Linked DNA regions of Homo sapiens: region 2 is linked to region 1. The links are contacts of gene promoters, found by promoter capture Hi-C in human tissues and cell types (Jung and others, 2019). All regions are on one chromosome and are shown on one strand. The core of a region is centred on a gene start or on the middle of the fragment in contact, and the rest is flanking DNA. Distances in the headings are between cores, read along the strand shown. Region 1 holds the start of DUSP16 (dual specificity phosphatase 16). Region 2 has its middle 6.3 kb from the start of LRP6.

Region 1 (4,946 bases), core at 1-2,500:
CCGTCACCACCCAGGTGGCCTCGCTGCTTACACCAAAGGCGAACTGGGGATAATGGGAACAGTCAGGCCAGGGCCCCACTTGGCAGGCGTGTTGTGTAACAGTCGCGCCTGGAAGTGAGCAGCTTCGCCCGCAAAGGTGCCGCGTCCCGCGGCGGCCGCTCCTCTCGGCGGGGCCCGGTCCAAGCGCCGCGCAGCGGCCGGGAGCGCACCCACTGCGACCCCGCGCCCGGCCGCACGCCCCCTTCCCGCTCCGGCCAGCCTCCGGCCAGGCCTACACCCCCGCTTCAAACGCTCCTGCGGCCCCCGGCCGCGGTCGCCCCCACGCCGCCTCCCGAAAGGGTGGCCGGTACGCCCGGGAAGGCAGAGACGGCGGGGCTGGAGCGCGGCGCCCGGCACCGGGAGTCGGGGCGCGCTGCGGAGCGTCCATGCGGCCGGGCGGGAGGGCGCCCCGGGCCCCGCACCCTCCCGCCCGCACACCCCGCGCGGCCCGCCAAGGCCACTTACTTTTGGGGCCGCCGACCTCCCAATTCCCTCAGAGGGAAACGAAAGTTGTCACGGCGTCTCCCCTCGGGCCCCCCTCGCCTCCCGGACTTGCGAGGCGCCGCCGCGGAGCCGAGAGGGCGGCTGCGCTCCCGCTCGCGTCCCGTCCCGTCGCTCTCCTCCTCCTCTTCTTTTCAGTATATTATCTTCTCCTTCTCTGAGGGGTGGGTTGGGGCGGGAGGCTTAGGAAGAGAGGAGACGCTCGCAACTTTTCTTCACTCTTTCTCTTCCACCCTCCCCCCCATCAGCCTTCAAAAAAAATGTCGAAAGAGATGAAGAACTTAGGGAGGTAAAGGTGGGGGGCCGCGTTGTGAAAGTGGGGGTTGGGGGGGAGAGAGAGGTGGTAATAATCGTTTAAAAACTGATTAAAGCCCCCCAAACACTGATACATAGAAAGAGGGGGAAAGGCGGGGGGGTGGGGTGGGGGGTTGGGGGAAAGAGAAAGAGTCGCTGGTCAGGAAACTTCAAGCGCGGATGAGGTCATTGGTTTAAAAATAAAGAGATGGCGTCACTTGAAACCAATCCCAGTGAATGAACTCAGCGGAGCCCCGGGGAAAGGAGGAGACAGGCGAGGGCAGGGCGGTGGGCGCCGGGCGGGGCCGCGCGCTCGCCCATCCCGCGGCCGCCCGAGCCCGGAGCGCGGCTCCGCGCCTCGTTCCGGCCGCTCGGGGAGGGGTCAGGTCATGTTCCCTTCCAGAGTCCGGCGACTCTGAGGCAGGTTCCGCGGGCGCCGCTGGGAGGAGCCGGAGCTGCCGGAGGAGGCGGCCCCGCGGCCTCCTCCCCCACCTCTCCCTCCTCCTCCTCCTCCTCCCGCGCCCGCGCGCCCGCCCCCTACCCCCGGGCTCGCGGCCCCGACCCCCGGGCCGGGGTGTCCGCCTCCAGTGCTGCGCCCCAACAGGTATCGGAGGGTTTTCTCCCTCACCCAGACGCAGAACCTTTCCCTCCTCCTTGAGCTGTTTCCAGCTGCCTCACCAACGTCAAAAAACGCAAACACTGATTTGAGAGAATTACACTCGCTCTGTAAAAAGTCTGGCGAATGCAAAAGGCAAGGCTCTGCCATCTCTCAGGAGAGAAGTTACAGGTACTTCAAGAAAAATCACACTACTGTTGTCAGGCATTCAGCTATCTATATGTTTATGGTTGAAAGCCCCCACATAAATGTTCCTACATTACTTTACTTTGCTTATATTTACAAATACAAGGATAAGCAGCCTACATTTTCTTTAAAAATGTTTTCTACAGGAGGCAGCGCAGAAACATCTTTAAATAAGACCAGGGGTTAACCGCCTCTTGAGAGGTACAAAACCCTTGTTGATTTAACTCCACATACCTCGTGCATTTTATTATTTGAATTCATTAAAATGTCTGTTTTGAGATGACATTATGCACTTTGGAAAACGAGAGACCTGAGGTGGTGACAAACCAGGACTTGGAATCACTGAATAGGACAATCGGAGCTTTATTCCAATGTTCTTTGAGCATTTGAGCATGAAGCTGCTTCTACTGAGAAGTACTCACGTGGATATCACATAACAAAGATGTGATTAATGACGGAAAAGCACCCTGCGAGTGGACTGCTCCATGAGCCAGAATTTATGTGTAGGAATAATCTAACTCTTCAAATATTCCATTTACAATGTGCCGGATTGGGACACTAGACCCTAAAGGCACTGTTTGCTGTGGGATATCCATGTGCACCCTGCCTAAAGCACGTTTTTCCACTAGCAAAAGAACTGATAAGCAGGTTTGGGTGGGTTCGAAAGATAATACACCCCTGTTACTACTTTTCTGCCTTTAAGTCCTGCAACTAAAGGCATTCCTTATGATTGGTAATCATTGAAGGTTAGTGTTGCGGGGTATGGCCCTGGGAACTTCTGGCCCATCTTTTATAGGAGGGAAAAAAAAAGCCCATTTGAAGATGGGAGGCACCCTAGCACCTCTGGCAGTAGTAGGTAAAGCCTGAAGGCCACAGATGGAGAAGCAACTTTGAGCCTGTGCCTCTGGCCTCTTGAAGACTTTGCTAGGGGAAGCAAATCTCTCCCACTGCTCCCTGTCCTCTGGTGGCCAGGAGGTGTTACTGCAGCTTCCTTGGGATTATTTGTGCTCTACCAGGAAACCCCTAAAAATCTAACTGTAGACCTTTGTTGGAGGTGTTGGGATTTTTAGGAAGGAAGAAGAAGATAGTCCTTTTACTAGTGGTACAGAGCATGGATCTTGCCTGGAGGAAAGATTCATGAGAATTAATGGTATCCCCTTTGCATGCCAAAGTTCCAGTAACCTTGCTTTAACTGACATGGCTTGAAACGTTTCTCCCCTTTCCTCAGTTACACAATTAAGTTTGTGTAATGTATGATGTGGTGCCATCATAGCTATCATAGAAGTCTCTCAGGGTATTTCATCTATTTCTGGAAACAAGACGTATATTAAAGCTCATTAAAAACGAAATCAATGATTGAGTGATGTACAATATTGGTTAAAAGAGTCAGGGGGCCGGGCGTGGTGGCTTAAGCCTATAATCCCAGCACTTTGGGAGGCCCGAGGCGGGTGGATCATGAGGTCAAGAGATCGAGACCATCCTGGCCAACATGGTGAAACCCCGTCTCTACTAAAAATACAAAAATTAGCCAGGCGTGGTGGTGGGCGCCTGTAGTCCCAGCTACTCAGGAGGCTGAGGCAGAAGAATCACTTGAACCCGGGAGGTGGAGGTTGCAATGAGCCGAGATCGCACCACTGCACTCCAGACTCCAGCCTGGCAACAGAGTGAGACTCCATCTCAAAAAAAAAAAAAAAAACAAACAAACAAAAAAAAACATCAGGGGAGAAAAGGAGCAATGTAGGCTGGGATTATCAGGGAAGGCACCTTATAAAGAGTTTTGACCTTATCCTTGAAGGACAGTTCAGATTTAGTTTGCAGTGAAGAAGCCAGTGGAGGGAAGATTCCAGAGGGCAAATGGCAATGAGCCAAGACATGGAGGTGGAATGAATAATGAGTAAGGTGTATTCAAGTGACAGAAGAGTAAACCCAGTAGCAGTAGAAATCGGTATTTAGCAATTAGGTATGAGGTTAAATTTAAGAGATACAGAGGCACATTGTGGAGGTACTTGAATGTTAGAATAAATAGATTGTTACCTGCCCAGCAGGTGAAGGGGAAACCACTAAACAAGTTTACTTCACCGAAGAGTACATTTCTTTCTTTTACTAAGAAAGGTTTTCTACATACTAACAATAAATATGTGGAAACAGCCCTCTCCCTCTCCCGCTCCCGCTCCCGCTCCCTCTCTTTCCACGATCTCCCTCTGATGCCGAGCCGAAGCTGGACTATACTGCTGCCATCTCGGCTCACTGCAACCTCCCTGCCTGATTCTCCTGCCTTAGCCTGCTGAGTGCCTGCGATTGCAGGCACGCACCGCCACGCCTGACTGGTTTTCGTATTTTTTTGGTGGAGACGGGGTTTCGCTGTGTTGGCCGGGCTGGTCTCCAGCTCCTAACCGTGAGTGATCCGCCAGCCTCGGCCTCCTGAGGTGCCGGGATTGCAGACTGAGTCTGGTTCACTCAGTGCTCAATGGTGCCCAGGCTGGAGTGCAGTGGCGTGATCTCGGCTCGCTACAACCTCCACCTCCCAGCCGCCTGCCTTGGCCTCCCAAAGTGCTGAGAGTGCAGCCTCTGCCCGGCCGCCACCCCATCTGGGAAGTGAGGAGCGTCTCTGCCTGGCTGCCCATCGTCTGGGACGTGAGGAGCCCCTCTGCCTGGCTGCCCCATCTGGAAGTGAGGAGCGTCTCTGCCCGGCCGCCATCCCATCTAGGAAGTGAGGAGCGCCTCTTCCCGGCTGCCATCCCATCTAGGAAGTGAGGAGCGTCTCTGCCCGGCCGCCCATCGTCTGAGATGTGGGGAGCGCCTCTGCCCCGCCGCCCCGTCTGGGAGGTGAGGAGCGTCTCTGCCCAGCCACCCCGTCTGAGAAGGGAGGAGACCCTCCGCCCGGCAGCCGCCCCGTCTGCGAAGTGAGGAGCCCCTCCGCCCGGCAGCCACCCCGTCTGGGAAGTGAGGAGCGTCTCCGCCCGGCAGCCACCCAGTCCGGGAAGGAGGTGGGGCTCAGCCCCCGCCAGGCCAGCCGCCCTGTCTGGGAGGGAGGTGGGGGGGTCAGCCCCACGCCTGGCCAGCCGCCCCGTCCGGGAGGTGAGGGGCGCCTCTGCCCGGCCGCCCCTACTGGGAAGTGAGGAGCCCCTCTGCCTGGCCACCACCCCGTCTGGGAGGTGTACCCAACAGCTCATTGAGAACGGGCCATGATGACAATGGCGGTTTTGTGGAATGGAAAGGGGGGGAAGGTGGGGAAAAGATTGAGAAATCAGATGGTTGCCGTGTCTGTGTAGAAAGAAGTAGACATGGGAGACTTTTCATTTTGTTCTGT
Region 2 (4,869 bases), core at 715-3,214, 290 kb before region 1:
AAAGTAGATTCATATAGCTGATGCATGGAATGCTTTTAGAGAATGTCAGGAATTGAGGCAGGACCATTAAATAGCTATTGATTAATAAAAACCTTTTCAAGCCATGCTAAGAAGTTTAGATTTTAGCATATTAACAATGCGGACATTGAAGAATTTTGCACATTGTACAGAAGTCTATGAAAGGGGCAATCAGGACAGCAGCGCTGAGGACTGAAAAGACATCATGGATTTAAAGAATACGAGATTAAAACAGGACTTTTAGTTGTGAATTGAGAGAGAAACAGAGAGTAATGGGAGTCTCCTTTACAAAGAAAAGAAAACCTAAGAAGTATTTCAAGAAGGAGTGGGTAATAAGTTTAACAATGGCTCTTTTGTATTGGAGGTGTCTATGAAACATCCAGGTGGAGGCCGGGCGCGGTGGCTCACGCCTGTAATCCCAGCACTCTAGGAGGCCGAGGTGGATGGATCATCTGAGGCCGGGAGTCCGAAACCGGCACGGCTAACATGGTGAAACCCCATCTCTACTAAAAACAGAAAAATTAGCCAGGCATGGTAACACGTGCCTGTAATCCGAGCTACTCAGGAGGCTGAGACAGGAGAATTGCTTGAACCCGGGAGGCGGAGGTTGCAGTGAGCCAAGATCACGCCATTGCCACCCAGCCTGGGTAACAGAGTGCGACTCTGTCTGAAAAAAAAAAAAAAAAAAAAAAAGGCCGGGCGCGGTGGCTCACGCCTGTAATCCCAGCACTTTGGGAGGCCGAGGTGGGCGGATCACGAGGTCAGGAGGCCCAGACCATCCTGGCTAACACGGTGAAACCCCGTCTCTACTAAAAATACAGAAAATTAGCCGGGCATGGTGGTGGGCGCCTGTAGTCCCAGCTACTCGGGAGAATGAGGCAGGACAATGGCATGAACCTGGGAGGCGGAGGTTGCAGTGAGCCGAGATTACACCACTGCACACTCCAGCCTGGGCAACAGAGTAAGACTCTGTCTCAAAAAAAAAAAAAAAAAAAACACTTATTGAAATTGCTACCACTGGCCGGGCACGGTGGCTCACTCCTGTAATCCCAGCACTTTGGGAAGCCGAGGCAGACGGATCACGAGGTCGAGAAATCGAGACCACCCTGGCCAACATCGTGAAACCCCGTCTCTACTAAAAATACAAAAAAAAAATTAGCCGGTCATGGTGGCAGGCGCCTGTAATCCCAGCTACTTGGGAGGCTGAGGCAGGAGAATCGCTTGAACCCGGGAGGCAGAGGTTGCAGTGAGCCGAGATCGCGCCATTGCACTCCAGCCTGGGCAAAAAGAGTGAAACTCTGTCTCAAAAAAAAAAAAGAAAGAAAGAAATTGCTACCACTAAAGAAGGTATGATTAGTAATGGCAAATGCAGTGTTAACTGTTAACAACAGAGAGTCTGCTGTGAGAAGTGCTGAAAAGAGGGCATTGTGACTATAACTTTCTCGAACGTCATTGATGGGAACATACATTATGCCAGTGTTTTAGAAAATCAGTCTGGGAGTAAAATACATACACCTTTAAACTGAAACGCTGGCCGGGCGCGGTGGCTCACGCCTGTAATCCCAGCACTTTGGGAGGCTGAGGCAGACAGATCACCTGAGGTCTGGAGTTTGAGACTAGCCTGGGCAACATGGTGAAACCCCTGTCCCTACTAAAAATACAAAAATTAGCTGGGTGTGGTGGCAGGCACCTGTAATCCCAGCTACTTGGGAGGCTGAGGCAGGAGAATCGCTTGAACCCCGGAGGTGGAGGTTGCAGTGAGCCGAGATGGCGCCACTGCTTTCCAGCCTGGCAACAGAGTGAGACTCCATCTCAAAAAAAAAAAAAAGCCTACAAAAATGACAGTTTTCCTGGTTCAACCTAATCAAAAGAACCTGAAGCCTGCTTTTTAAAAAAAATCACAGATAAAGTGCACAAAATAGTCATTGGTGACTTTAAGCCAAAGCAGTTTCAGCAGAGGTATGAGATCCAAAGCAAAAGTGCAGTGAATTGAGAAATGAAGGGGAAACAGGGAGGGAGGGCAGTGGTTTTTCCCAAATCTTATTGTTAAAGGAAAGAGAACACTTGGGTGGCTGGAAAGGAATGTGAGGCTGGAGGAATCTGGGAGTTGACTTAGTTAGGGTTGATTGCTTACTTTGTTTTTAAGTTTGAGAGGAATGTGATCATATTTGTAACCTGAAGTAAGTGATCAAATAAAGAAGGAGAGTGAGGAAAGTGATTCAGAGACTTCAAGAGGATCTGGAGCCTAGCAGAATGGATCAGCCTTGGATGGGAGGAGGAGCAGGAGGATTTCCACTTCTGGAGGAGAGGAGAGTCAGTGTGGCTGCTTGACCTTCAGCTCTCCTTTCTCCACTCCCACTTTCACAGACTCCTTCCAGAGGCCTTGGGAGGGACCATGGCAATGATTAGGATGGTCATATGTTTTTATACTACTTGCAAAACCAAGATTGTTTTAGTATTCATTTTCTTTAAAATATCTCCTTCTCCAGTTGTATATGCTCAGCACTACAAAACCTGAATCTGCCCCTAGTAGCTATAAATAGGTTTCATGGGGAAGGGATAGTGGAGACAAGATTTGATTGCCTTCATTTACATAAAAACAGAAAGCAAAGTCTACATTGAGAGTGAAGTAAGAAAGAATATGGTGGTCGGGGAGGAGGTCAGGAAAGTGACAAAGGTTTGGAGAAGCTGGGAATGGAAGAGGGAGTTGACAAAGGACACATTATAGGATCCTCTAACAGCACAGAGGATGCTGCTATAACTCCCTACCAGAAATGTGGTGTATATCATGAAGAGTGGCCTTCTTGCCTCTATTTTTCTTTTTTCTTTTTTGAGACAGAGTCTCTCTCTGTCACCAGGCTGGAATGCAGTGGTGTGACCTCGGCTCACTCCAACCTCCACCTCCAGGGTTCAAGCAATTCTTATGTCTCAGCCTCCCAAGTAGCTGGGATTACAAGCGCGTGCCACCATGCCTGGCTAATGTCTTTCTTTCTTCCTTTTTTTATTTTTATTTTTTTATTATTATTTTTTTAATAGTAGAGATGGGGTTTCACCATGCTGGCTAGGCTGGTCACGAACTCCTGGCCTCATGATCTGCCCACCTCGGCCTCCCAAAGTGCTGGGATTACAGGCATGAGCCACCGTGCCCTGCCTTCTTTCTTTTTCTTTTCTTTTCTTTTCTTTCTTTTTTTTTGACAGTCTTGCTCTGTCGCCCAGACTGGAGTGCAGTGGTGCTATGTCAGCTCACTGCAAGCTCCTCTTCCCCAGTTCACGCCTACTGCCTCAGCCTCCCGAGTAGCTGGGACTACAGGCGCCTGCCACCACGCCTGGCTAATTATTTGTATTTTTAGTAGAGACAAGGTTTCACCGTGTTAGCCAGGATGGTCTCAATCTCCTGACCTCGTGATCCGCCTGCCTCGGCCTCCCAAAGTGCTGAGACTACAGGTGTGAGCCACCGCACCCGGCTTTTTTTTTTTTTTTTTTGTATTTTTAGTAGGGGCAGGGTTACGCCATGTTGGCTAGGCTGGTCTCAAACTCCTAGCCTCAAGTGATCCAGACTTGAGGGACAAGTGTTCCAGACTCCCAAAGTGCTGGGATTACAGGCATGAGCCACTGCGCCTGGCCCATCTATTTTTCCCTCCTTCAATGGGAATAACACTTGTTCCTAGCTGCACCATGAAAATATCACATCAGATGCCTAAGAAGAATTCACTATAATTAGAAAATAAGTATACTTTGGGGCCAGGCATGGTGGCTCACGCCAGTAATCCCAGCACTTTGGGAGGCCGAGGTGGGCAGATCACCTGAGGTCCGGAGTTCAAGACCAGCCTGATCAACATGGAGAAACCCCGTCTCTACTAAAAATACAAAATTAGCCAGGAGTGGTAGCACATGCCTGTAGTCCCAGCTTCTCGGGAGGCTGAGACAGGAGAATCGCTTGAACCCGGCAGGCAGAGGTTGCGGTGAGCCGAAATCACTCCATTGCACTCCAGCCTGGGCAACAAGAGCAAAACCTCGTCTCAAAAAAAAAAAGAAAAAGGAAAAGAAAGAAAAGAAAAGAAGTAACTTTGTTTTCAATAATATTTTTCTTTTTTCAACATCAGCTATATAAACCCCCTGTAAAGTCTATTAAAACATGAAAAATAAATTAAACGCTATACATTAAATTTCTTACGTTTGTCCCAAACAGGATGAAAGGATATCTGCAATAGAGGGTAACCTGGAAAAGGGAAGCGGAGCCAGAGAAAACAGAGGAGGGAGTCCATTCAGGGGAGAGGATGATGGCGGTGTTAGAATATTGGTTACATCCAGCCTGGCATGGTGGCTCATGCCTGTAATCCTAGCACTTTGGGAGTCCGAAGTGGGTGGATCACAAGGTCAAGAGGTCAAGATCTGCCTGGCCAAGATGGTGAAACCCCGTCTCTACTAAAAACTACAGAAATTAGCTGGGTGTGGTAGTAGGTGCCTGTAATCTCAGCTACTCAGGAGGCTGAGGCAGTAGAATCACTGGAACCCGGGAGGCAGAGGTTGCAGTAAGCCGAGATTGCACCACTGCACTCCAGCCTGGGTGACAGAGTGAGACTCCATCTCAAAAAAAAAAAAAAAACCAAAAAAAAAAAAGAATATTGGTTACATCGAGAAGGATTAATCTACTAAGTAAATATATTAAAGATAATGGAATCAGAGTTTCTAACTATCAGAGAAGGAAGTTACAAATACAACAAAGATACCTTGGTGCCAATGGCAATGAAAATGGTGGAGTAAGAAACTCTAAGGGTAGGGAACTCTCTTCCTTTGCAGAAACACTGAAAAAACTGGCAAAAGTCATGAGAAACAACTTTATTAGAACTC

Evidence for each region. The method cuts DNA at HindIII sites, captures the fragments that hold promoters and counts their contacts. A contact is called where the count stands out against the background at its distance.
Region 2: a fragment that was not itself captured here is called in contact with the fragment with the promoter of DUSP16 in region 1 in 1 of the 25 tissues and cell types used here (hippocampus).

The regions. Positions count from the first base shown.
Region 1 is chr12:12,561,613-12,566,558 of GRCh38, forward strand. DUSP16 (dual specificity phosphatase 16) reads right to left here and starts at 1,251. Exons shown (of 7, transcript NM_030640.3): 1 at 505-1,251. RefSeq lists silencers at 151-350, 371-490, 521-600, 1,051-1,560. The HindIII fragment of the contact is 19,289 bases long and covers 1-4,946 here.
Region 2 is chr12:12,270,869-12,275,737 of GRCh38, forward strand. No RefSeq gene overlaps it. Among named protein-coding and RNA genes, the nearest start is that of LRP6, 6.3 kb to the left of the region's middle. The HindIII fragment of the contact is 7,326 bases long and covers 1-4,869 here.